Regions from separate parts of the Homo sapiens genome. Here all the other regions are linked to region 2. Evidence: promoter capture Hi-C in human tissues and cell types (Jung and others, 2019). All regions are on one chromosome and are shown on one strand. Each heading gives the region's core, a stretch centred on a gene start or on the middle of the fragment in contact. The rest is flanking DNA. Distances are from core to core; before and after follow the strand shown.

The links. Contacts are between HindIII fragments. The study calls those that stand out against the background at their distance.
Region 1: a contact is called between the fragment with the promoter of RCBTB1 here and the fragment with the promoter of MED4 in region 2, in 1 of the 25 tissues and cell types used here (hippocampus).
Region 3: a fragment that was not itself captured here is called in contact with the fragment with the promoter of MED4 in region 2 in 1 of the 25 tissues and cell types used here (dorsolateral prefrontal cortex).

The regions. Positions count from the first base shown.
Region 1 is chr13:49,584,251-49,587,946 of GRCh38, reverse strand. RCBTB1 (RCC1 and BTB domain containing protein 1) reads left to right here and starts at 2,389. Exons shown (of 13, transcript NM_018191.4): 1 at 2,389-2,503. RefSeq lists a silencer at 2,156-2,865. The HindIII fragment of the contact is 9,086 bases long and covers 1-3,696 here.
Region 2 is chr13:48,093,567-48,097,134 of GRCh38, reverse strand. It overlaps MED4 (mediator complex subunit 4), which reads left to right and starts at 2,031. Exons shown (of 7, transcript NM_014166.4): 1 at 2,031-2,181. The coding sequence starts at 2,057. RefSeq lists a silencer at 2,528-2,822. The HindIII fragment of the contact is 12,809 bases long and covers 1-3,568 here.
Region 3 is chr13:46,783,612-46,787,270 of GRCh38, reverse strand. It overlaps ESD (esterase D), which reads left to right. Exons shown (of 10, transcript NM_001984.2): 4 at 162-250; 5 at 2,921-3,019. Among named protein-coding and RNA genes, the nearest start is that of ESD, 12 kb to the left of the region's middle. The HindIII fragment of the contact is 5,026 bases long and covers 1-3,659 here.

The DNA of each region.
Region 1 (3,696 bases), core at 1,140-3,639, 1.5 Mb before region 2:
AATGCAGTGATGCGATCTTGGCTCACTACAACCTCTGCCTCCTGGGTTCAAGTGATTTTTGTGCCTCAGCCTCTCAAGTAGCTGGGATTACAGGCACGTGCCACCACAGCTGGCTAATTTTTGTATTTCTAGTAGAGACAGGGTTTTCCAAAGTTGGCCAGGCTGGTCTTGAACTCTTGACCTCAAGTGATTTGCCTGCCTTGGCCTGGGATTACAGGCATGAGCCACTGCACCTACCTGTTTGTTTTTTCCTAAACAAATAGTACTGTTTCATGTGTCACTACTTTTGAACACATTGCTCTCTCCTGGAATGTCTTTTTCTTTCTTCTTATCTACTTCCTGTCCAACTGACCTTCTCATGAAGTTTCTCCCTGACTCCCTGATTTGTGGTCCCTGGTTTGTGTTCACTTAGCACCTTGTATCATAATACTTTTCACCCTGTACTGGAATAATGAACCAGACTACACATTCCTTATCAGCAACCATGTCTCATTCAGCTTTTAATCCTCCAAGATGCTCCAAGTATGGCATCTGACACATAAGCAGTGAGGGCTCAGGACATATTTGATTGCTCACACCCCATGCCCTCGTTTTTCTCTCAGACATGTTTACACAAGTTCTTTTGATCGGGTTGCAACCAAAAGAAACTGATTTTAGTTTCTTTGAGCAAAACAGGCCTCTTCTAGTAAATTCACTCAACTGCCACTACTTTGGGCAAGCCACTTCATTCAGTGAGTATTAAGGGTCTATCACATGCCAGGCGCTGTTCTAAACCCAGAAGAATCCTGTTTCAAAGAGTTTATAATCTAAGGGAGAAGACAGCAATAGACAATTCACCTTTTACAGGAAATGCGCAGTCTATTTCTGGGCAGTGTGAGGTGTATCAGAATATATATAGTATTCTGGAAATCAGGGAAGAAGTTGCAGCTGACACTGTCTGGATGAACTTCAATTGCTAAAAAATCAGGGAAGAGGATGCTGGGAAGACAAGAGTAGGCGGCATTTGACCTGGATTTTGAAAGATGAGTAGGAAACTGATGTGTACTTTGGAGGCTGTTGAAGAAAACCAGAGCCAAACAGTAGTTGAAGTGGTAAAAACATTTTATTCAGGAACTAGTGCAACAGGAGCGAGACCTCAGAATAGATACAGAACTAAGCTCAATTCTCTTATTGCATTAGTTTCTTAATACCTTTTTTTTTTTTTTTAATCATTGGCCCTGGTTTTCTTTAAGTGGGGGAGGTGGTGATTCAGGACATTTCAGATACAGACAAAAGAATGAACAAAGCAAAAAGGAGTAAAGAAACTTAGAGAAAAAGTAAATAATCCAAAGAAAGTTGAGTAGTCAAGGAAAACAAATTATTTGTAGCCAGAGCCTCCAGTAATGTTGGGGAAGTGGCAAGAGATGAGGGACGGTAGGACTTTTTTAATAATTCAAGTTACCAAAAGTGAAGTTATCTGGTGATATTTAGAAAATGAAATGTTTTTCTGTTTATTCCTAGGAGCTCAAATGGGAAAGGTAAGTGAACAAGTGGCTGGAATGCTATGCCAACAAGTTTGGATTTTATCCTGCAGCGCCAACTGGGAGTTCTCCGAGAGCTGTATGGTATTTTACAAAGGGACTGTAGTCTTTATAGGTGATAGGCTGGAGCAGCTCGTAGCAGTCCCTCTCCTGGCCTCAGTTTACTCGCTGGTAACACGAATCCGGTTGGACCAGATGCCCTCTTAGGTCCCGTCTAACCTCTATGGCATGCTTCCGAGGTACCTCTGCCTCTTTCCAATACCAGGACCTGTGCCTCATCTCGTCCTTCCTTCATACCTTTGTCCAGCTGCCACCTTCCCTAGTCCCTGGCCTGCCTCAGGTACTTTCAATCAGGAAGTGAGGGGCGGGGAGGGAGGGAGGCGCGTCTCCAGTAAAAACAAACTAGTCCCAGCTCCGCCGCCTTTCCTCCCAGGCAGCACCACCTGGGTGGTGCCCCGGGGCCAGACGCGCTCTAGAGTGGGCAGGGAGCCAAGTTTCTCGGTCGCTTTTCCGTCCTAGGTCTCTGGGGTGGTAGGCCGACCCTCCCCACAGCCAAGCCATCTCGGGGAGCAGAGCAGGAGCCCGTGCCTCGCGCGTTCCTGGTTCCTCAGACACAAAAGCCTCTAAGTCCCGGCAGCAGCCACCGGATTTCATGGGGACACTCCAGTGGCAGGGCCTCGGGGCGGGCCTGAGACGGCCAATCGGCTTCTAAAGAAGTCGGGTTGTAGGGCCCGAAGAGCAGGGTTTCGGCCGGGGCCGGGGCCGGGGCGGTGCGGGATGCTCGGCTGGGTAGCGTCCCGGGCGCGCGCTGCACCGGGTCACGTGAGGCGGCCGGGGCCACGTGACCCGGCGGGCCCGGCGCCCTGGCGCTCCTCCTCTTCGCTGCCGGTGGGCACCGCCGCTCGCTCGCACTTCTGCGCCCATTGGAGCTTCGGAGATCCCTGCGGTCCCGCGGGACGGCGCGGCAGCAGCTGACCTCGCAGGTAGCGTGTGGGCGCGGGGTCGAGCTCGCGGAGGCCTCTTCCCCCTCGGCCCTGCCCCTGCTTCCCTTCCCCGCAGGCCGGGCCGGGAGTGCCCCGTTACTCCTGTACCTCCCGCCTCCCTCGCTCGGGCTCCCGGGCAGTCCCTGCGGGCGCTGCGTCCGGGGCGAGGGATGGGGTCCCCGGCCCGGCCCCGCCAGCACCTCAGCTAATGTGCTCTCCTGCGAGGAGGAGGGAAGGATGGGGAGAGGCGAGGGAAAGTTTTCCCTGCCTCCCTCTCTTTTTTGAGGTGCACGGACTCGATTTTGCTCGTAGCTGAAGTCTGACTGCTGTGGGTGCCGTTTTACTGAGAGGAGATCTCCCCTCCGACTCTTCCTATTCTCTCTCCTTTCCAAGATCTTAGCATCTCTCCTTCGTCTCCTGAGAGTAGTGCTGTCACAAACCGTATTCTTTATCGTTTCCCTTTCCGACACAGAATCCACAAAGGCAGGGATTTTGTTAGTGAGGACTTTTATCCAGGCGTGCGGTGAACTCTAAATAAGTGACGTTTCCCTTGTCTGCCTCTGATAAAGTACCTACCTGCTCGGTTTAAGATGACTATCGAGCACGCTGTGTTCTGCTCGCATAAGTGGCCTTTTGTTTTTATTTATTTGCATGTAAGACACTTTCAAGCCATCTGCGGAACTCTGCAGCTGGGGATTACAATTTTATAAAGCAGTCTTGTAATAATGCTTTTAGAAAACCAGATTCATGATCTTCCTTGCTTTTGCCCTATTCTTTTTTTGGGAGGACTAAAAGCCCTTAGAGGACAAAAACTGAGTTTCTGAAACTGGTGTGTATTGTGGGCTAATAACATTAAAACATCAAAGTATATAATGCCGGAAGGAATGGAAAAATGATTGAATCCTGAGGGCAGTTTATAGGTGCTTTAAACTTTAGAGTACTCATTTCAAGTGAGCACTGGGTGAATTTCACCCGTTTAAACTGCTTTCAGGGTCGAGGATGTAACTGTATATTTGGATTCTATTAATATAACAGTTCATCTGTGGGATGGACTTTAATCCATTTAATCCATTGTGTGAATATCAGTCTATTTATTAATACTCTAGACGGGTCCTTTTTCTTCTACCCGCTAGTCTGTTTCTCTTGAAGAGGAAGCATATTCATCTTTAAAGAGATTTTTGCAAGTGATTTTT
Region 2 (3,568 bases), core at 782-3,281:
AAAGTAGGACTATAATTGGTCATTTTTAACTAATTAGAATCCTTCTAGAATTTTTATGTTTACACTAATATAATGTTCTCTCTCCTCCTACCAGAGTCATGGCTCAATATGACCCGTGAGAGTTGAGTAAACAAAACCAACACATACCGCAGAAGTTTGGCACCCTGGAAACTTAACATAAGAAATGATTGACTAGAGTACTGAGAGGCATGTTTAGAATGCAAGTGTAATGAACAAAGCTTCAATCTACTTTAGCCCATTGCCTGAGAATTGACTGCATTAACAAAAAAGGGTTAGCCAACAGCAGATGCAGGGAACGGTCAGAAAACAAAAGGTGACAAGGATCTCTTGCACTGTCTAGAGGAAAAGGTACCCTGACCTATGAACACAAATAATCCAATCTCTTGAACACAAATATCCCTACACTGTGGAGACACAAAGCCTCATGATTGTGTCATTAATTTTTAATCTATCCTTGTTTGTTCTGATCCAAGTTTAACAAGCAACATCCTGTGATAATATGGCTTCTCATATAGTTTTGTCTATGGGAAAAAGATATGTTTGGCACTATTACTTTTCATCGTAAGTGAGTAAATCAGCATTCTAGATTACGCAGCAGTTGCTATGAGTGAATTTATTTAACATGAATTTCTAAAAGACTTGTCAACTCTGGGTGCCCAGGAGTCAGGTTTAGCACCTCCAAAAAGACAGAGTAGAGGATGAGACCCTGAAATGAAAGGACTACAGGTACTACTACCTCATGGGAGTGAGGCAGTCCCAGACCATCTTTTATAATAGCAATATGGAATCCTCATTCCCAATAGGCTTGTAACTTTGCTTTTTTCTGGTAGAGAGTGATCCCTACTACATTGTTATCCCTAGGAAAAGTAGGCTAAGACGTATTTTTGCCTTTGACAACCAGTTCTGGTTTGGAATGTGTGGTACATCAATGACTTAAACTATGTTAATTAACTACTACTTATGTACTGTATTGGTTCCTTCAGTTCAATAATTAACCTGAGTAATGAGCAAAACATTTTGTTGGAAGATGTATGGCTATAAAGATGGATTATAGCAATGTGGAAGTAACCTAACTGTCCATCGTCAGATGAATGGATGAACAAAAGGTGCCATATGCATACAATGGAATATTAGTCTTAAAAAGGAAAGATATTCCAGCACATGCTACATCATGGATGAACCTGGAGGACATAATGCTGAGTGACATAAGCCAGACACAAAAAGACAAATACTGTATGATTCTGCTTATATGAGGTACCTAGAGTAGCCAAACTTACAGCAATGGAAAGTAGAATGGTGGTTGCCAGGGCCTGGAGAAGGGAGGGATAAGGAGTTAGCATTTAGTGAGTACAGAGTTTGTTTTACAAGATAAAAGGTTTTGGAGATGGATAGTTGCTCAACAGTATGAATGTATTTAATGCCACTGAACTATCCACTTAAAAATGGTTAAGGTGGGCCGGGTGCGGTGGCTCACGCCTGTAATTCCACCACTTTGGGAGGCTGAGGCAGGCGGATCACGAGGTCAGGAGATTGAGACCATCCTGGCTAACAAGGTGAAACCCCGTCTCTACTAAAAATACAAAAAATTAGCCGGGCGTGGTGGCGGTCGCCTGTAGTCCCAGCTACTCGGGAGGCTGAGGCAGGAAAAATGGCGTGAACCCAGGAGGCGGAACTTGCAGTGAGCCAAGACATCCGCGGCGATGCACTCCAGTCTGGGCAACAGAGCGAGACTCGTCTCAAAAAAAAAAAAAGAAAGAAAGAAAGAAAAAAAACCATTAGGCCCAGGAGAATCAGACTGCGTTGCCCCCACTGTTCTCAGTTCAGCTGTCGCTCCCAGGGTTTGGACCAGAAAGCCCTCGCCGGCCCAACAGATGGCGCCGGTGTCCGCAGTGCGCCTCCAGGCCCAAAGGGGGCGCTCTCGCCAGGCCTCTTTTTCCTCTCCTGGGTGACTCTTCCGCCTTCCGAGCCCGCCTTCTCGCCACGCACCTGCGTCAGCTCGCTCTGCGCGTGCGCCGGTGGCGGGACTCTGGGGAAAATGGCTGCGTCTTCGAGTGGTGAGAAGGAGAAGGAGCGGCTGGGAGGCGGTTTGGGAGTGGCGGGTGGTAACAGCACACGAGAGCGGCTGCTGTCTGCGCTTGAGGACTTGGAGGTCCTGTCTAGGTAATGCGGCGAGCCTGAGAGCCGGGCTGGAGCTGGGCCGGGGGACTGACCCCGGAGCCGGCCGGCCCTGCGTTTGTGCTCGTTCTCGGGGTTCGGCGGGGAGGGCCAGCTCGGGAGTTTCGGGTGCATGAGGGTCATGGACGTGGGGTCCGCAGCCCTCTGGCACTCTGGGCGGCGGTTTTTCCCGTTAGAGGGAATTTTAGTAATGATAAGAACTCGCGCGGTCTGAGCCTCTTCGTCCGCGGCCAGCCACTTAACATTTATGGAACGCTCCTTGGGGGCTCAGCATTGGGGAGACGGTAGTGAAGGGTAGACTGGATGCCAGCTGTCGAGAGAGAGACAGATGTGTAAACTGGCTTGGGGCCTGTTTTTATTAGAGGGCTGCGCTGCGGGGTACTGGAGCACAGGGACTAGGCACCTTTTTTGGTTGTAGTCAGGGCAGGCCCTCTGAAGAAAGTGCTGCTTGGGAAGCATGAGCTCGCCAAACTCACTAGGCAGCACAGATAGATGGAACAGCAAGTGCAAAAAGCCTGGCTTGGTGGAGTTGCAAGTTGTTTAGGATGGTTGTGTGTCAGAGATAGGAGATGAAATTAGATGTCGTTCTTCATATTCTGTCACCTTTCATGATAAGTCTTTCAAGTTGAAGCCTTCCTTGACTCCCTCCCATTGACTTGGATGGTAAATTATCTTGGTTCTACCTCCTAAAGTGTCGCTCCAATTTGCCCTCTCGTTCCAACCCCGCTGTTCATAACTCCTTCTTAAATGTAGCCTCCCAAACAGTTTTAATTGCCTCATGCTTCTGCACTTTATCCTTTTATATTGGCCGATACCAGTTTTAAAAGGCATCTTATATCACTTTTCTGCAGAAAAATTATATAAAAGCTACCTCATTGGTAGGTTTGCGTTGTCCAGTGAGGTAAAGTTCAAATTCTTTAGTCAGACTTCCACATCTTCAGTGCCATTCCCAGTCTACTCCCGATTTGGTGAATGATTCATATATCCTTCAGAATCCAGCTCAAATGTCACTTTTTCTATAGCCAACATTCTTTGACAGCTTTAGAATAAATCTTACCTGTTGTATTTTAAAATATACGTGATATAATCAGCACTTTATTTTTGGTGTAAATTTAGTCCTTGCCATCGTATTGCTACCAAGTTACCAGGTCAGCACAATATTTAATGATGGAAGAAAACCCGAAAACACCTAGACAGCAGAAATTAAATGGCTTATGTGTTTGATCCACTGTTTAAAATAAACTGTATTAGGGCCGGGTGTGGTGGCTCACGCCTATAATCCGAGCACTTTGGGAGGCCAAGGCGGGCGGATCATTGGAACTTCTTCACAGAATGAAGCTGCTCTGGTGGTGTGACTGGCTTCCAGAAAGGT
Region 3 (3,659 bases), core at 652-3,151, 1.3 Mb after region 2:
ATATTCGTTAAATGTTAGTGGAACCACTTATTTTGAACATTAAATAACTTATTTTGGACCTTTAGTATATATCTTACTTTTTATATAGTGCATAATTATTTTGTTTCTGTATTGATTAATGAGGGGCATTAATATTTTGTTGTTGTTTTTGTTAAAACTAGTGTTGAACTAAACTGCAAAATGAAATTTGCTGTCTACTTACCACCAAAGGCAGAAACAGGAAAGTGCCCTGCACTGTATTGGCTCTCAGGTAAGTATTATGCATTTGAGTTTTATAAAGTCGTTTCTATTTTCTTTTTAACTGGCTTATCTTACCCTTTTATTTTAACTTGGTAGGCTTTTTGAGCCATTTATGAAAGACTTTAAGGACCTGTCATAGTCTACTCTGTTACTTTTATCCTCAGAATAATTTCAGACCTACTGAATTATATTTATTTCATATATTTTTCTAATAGACCAAGTAATTTAGCAGAGAATGTAAAGTTCTGTACTCAATAGCAAGGGCTTAGAAAACTTATTTACTTAATTTGGACCTACCCAAGCATTTCTGGAGTTTATAGAGACTTTACTAGTCCATTAGAACAATATTAGGTGAAATCAGGACACCAAGATACTCTAATTAGAAACCAGCTATTGTAAAAAGTCAAATAACTTACAGTGTTCTCTAAAATATTTTAACTGGACTCCATAGAGCTTCTCTGACAACAATCTGGAAAGTCACAAAAGAACGCTAAGGCTTCTCTTAATCAGTGTTTCATATTAACTACTGTAGAATAGATTGTGAAGAGTAAGATTTTGACACCTGCAGTTTTGAAACCTCTATGCTAACTTTTCTTTCACAAGACGCTGGTACTTCATCTTCAGAAGCAAACATAAGGAGAGAATCCTAGCAACTAAATTGTGTCACAGAGTACTATTTTAATTTTGTTTCCTTCAAATTGGTTCCTGTAACTTTGATTTAACAAATCCTCCCTCATGTGTGTTTCATCAAGGACAAGTCCCAAATACCAGTCTTTGAAAATGAGAATAAATATTTCATCTTAAAGGGTAAAGATTAAGTGCATATCTGACTTTAACTCAAGAAAACATTTCTGTGATTGAATGAAGAGCACTGATTTTGCTAGAAGAGCATTAGGTATTGCTAAAAGCAAGAGCAACAAAATTAGTTATTTAATTGTCTTAGAAAATATAATATTGTATAGCTAAAAATGATCTTAGAAATCATGTAATCCCTAGAAAGAAAATGAGGCCCAGTGAAGCTAAATATTGTCCAGGGTCACACGCTAATGTGGAGTTGAACAAGTTTTCTGACTCACAGTCCAGAGCTGTATTTAGTTTTTTCTCCTGTTGTTTTTGCGTTTTGTTTCTGGTGAGGGGTACTATAGTCATATCTCTTGGCTAAACAATAATAACCAGAAGCCCTGAGGCATTGTGTCATAGGTACTCTAATAATAGGGCCCTAAGTTTTAACTAAAATTGAATCTAGCAAGACATATCTGAGCTTTACAAGTATAAAATACAGAATTTTTGTTTGTTTACATCAAATGACAGGACAGTTTCCTTAGTGAGATGCTGAAGAACAGATAGACCTTGGAAATTAAGGCTTGATTTTCTGAGTAAAGGTAAGATTGCCTGACCAGTGCACGTGAGAAATGGTGACAAAAAAATTTCAGAAGGTTTACTTCCCAGCAAGTCTAAGGAAAACAATGACAGAAAGATTACACAATTATTATATAGCTAAAATAGAGAAATTAGCTGAAATCAAAACAGCCAAACTGAAATCTTAAAAGATAGTTCATGTGTAGTGATTTGTATCTTTCCCAAGTGAAGGTGACCATTGAAACAGCCCTTTATTAGCTGTGTACCCAATAGAATTGAAAACATGTCCATACAGAAACTTGCACATGAATGTTCATGGCACACTATTATAATAGCCAAAAAGTATAAACAAACCAAATCTCTCTCAACTGGTGAAATGATCAATAAAATCGATTGCTAGTTCATTCCTCACCATTCTCACATCATTGTAGTATTAGATACCTATAGTAAAAGAATTAAGTCATCTCCTCTATCATGACTGAAAAGCATGGAGCTAGGAAAAATAACAGAAACTTCTAAAAACTGAGGCTAAAACTCAATTTAAGGATGGCATATGGTCACCATTACTCTCTTTTTAGTTCAGTGAAGAATACAAAGATGATTAAGCTAAATTTTGTTGCTGAGAACTATCTGTATGTAAAAAAAAGTATTTGTATTATGAAGACCATAGTATTTGCTTATTTACTGTGAATATGTTTTGGTGCAGAAATAGTGCGATGTTTAATTAGCATATTTGATAACACTTCACTGGGGTTGTTTTAATATTGGGCTTATGCACCATATTGTCACTCTACAGTTTGAAAATTTCTGAATTCCCAAACACTCCTGGTCCAAAGGATTTTAGTAATTGAAACTTTAGTAGTGATTTTAAAAGGATAGTTATGGGATCACTTAACCTAACACAGTTCTTAGGTTAATACTATTACAAATTTTGTGAAAAAGTGAATTTTAGTGTCTTACTCAAAATTGTTTCTAAAGCAAAAAAAATAATAATACCAAATGAGCTTGTTTTCCTGTATTATAAACAGTTTAAAGCTTATAAACCATTCACAATATAGCATGAGATAATTTATTTTTAATAATTTCAACTTTTATTTTAGATTAAAGGGGTACACGTGCAGGTTTGTTATATGAGCGTATTGCGTGACATGGAGGTTTGGGGTATGAAAGATACCATCACCCGGGTAGTGAACATAGTACCTAACTGGTAGTTTTTCAGCCCTTGTCCGTCTCCGTCTCCCCCTGCTCTAATAGTCCCCAGTATTAATGGTGCACATCTTCATGTCCATGTGTGCCCAATAACAATATTTTTTATCTTCAGGTTTAACTTGCACAGAGCAAAATTTTATATCAAAATCTGGTTATCATCAGTCTGCTTCAGAACATGGTCTTGTTGTCATTGCTCCAGATACCAGCCCTCGTAAGTGTTTGTGGTCTAGATATCCTTTGTAAAAATCTAAATCTTTAAGACTGGTATAAAGTGGTATGATATATACATTATACAATTCATTTTATATTTTTGCTGTTATCTCTATTAACCTTTCAAGTGGCATCATGACTCCAAAATACCATGCTGTACATTTTCCTCATTGAATTTTACTCATGACATGGCCTTTATGAAAGAGGATAGTTTTGCTATTCCCATTGTACAGATTAAGATACTTCAAAGCAGAGATTGAGCAACTCAATTCATATATCATGTTGGCACTACTGTCAAAATACTAATGTGTAATGCATAGGAAATTATTTTTCTATTCCAGAGGTATACTGTCTTGTTGCATGATAATTACATCTTTTTTCATCTCTGTTAACATCAACCATACAGTTAAACAAGTATTAGTTTTAATATAAATGATTTGAATATTTACATTAGAGAAATGAAAATATCAACTACGTGAGACTCAATGCATCAGACAGTTAAAACTTGTTTTATGACTCTAGAAGTTTCAGGAAATGGAATTTAAATGGCAGTAAAACTAGGGAAGTTATATGGCTGGCCTGGCAAGTAGTATATTTCCTTTCACAGGCCATATTATACAAAAACAATGCATATCTGGTTA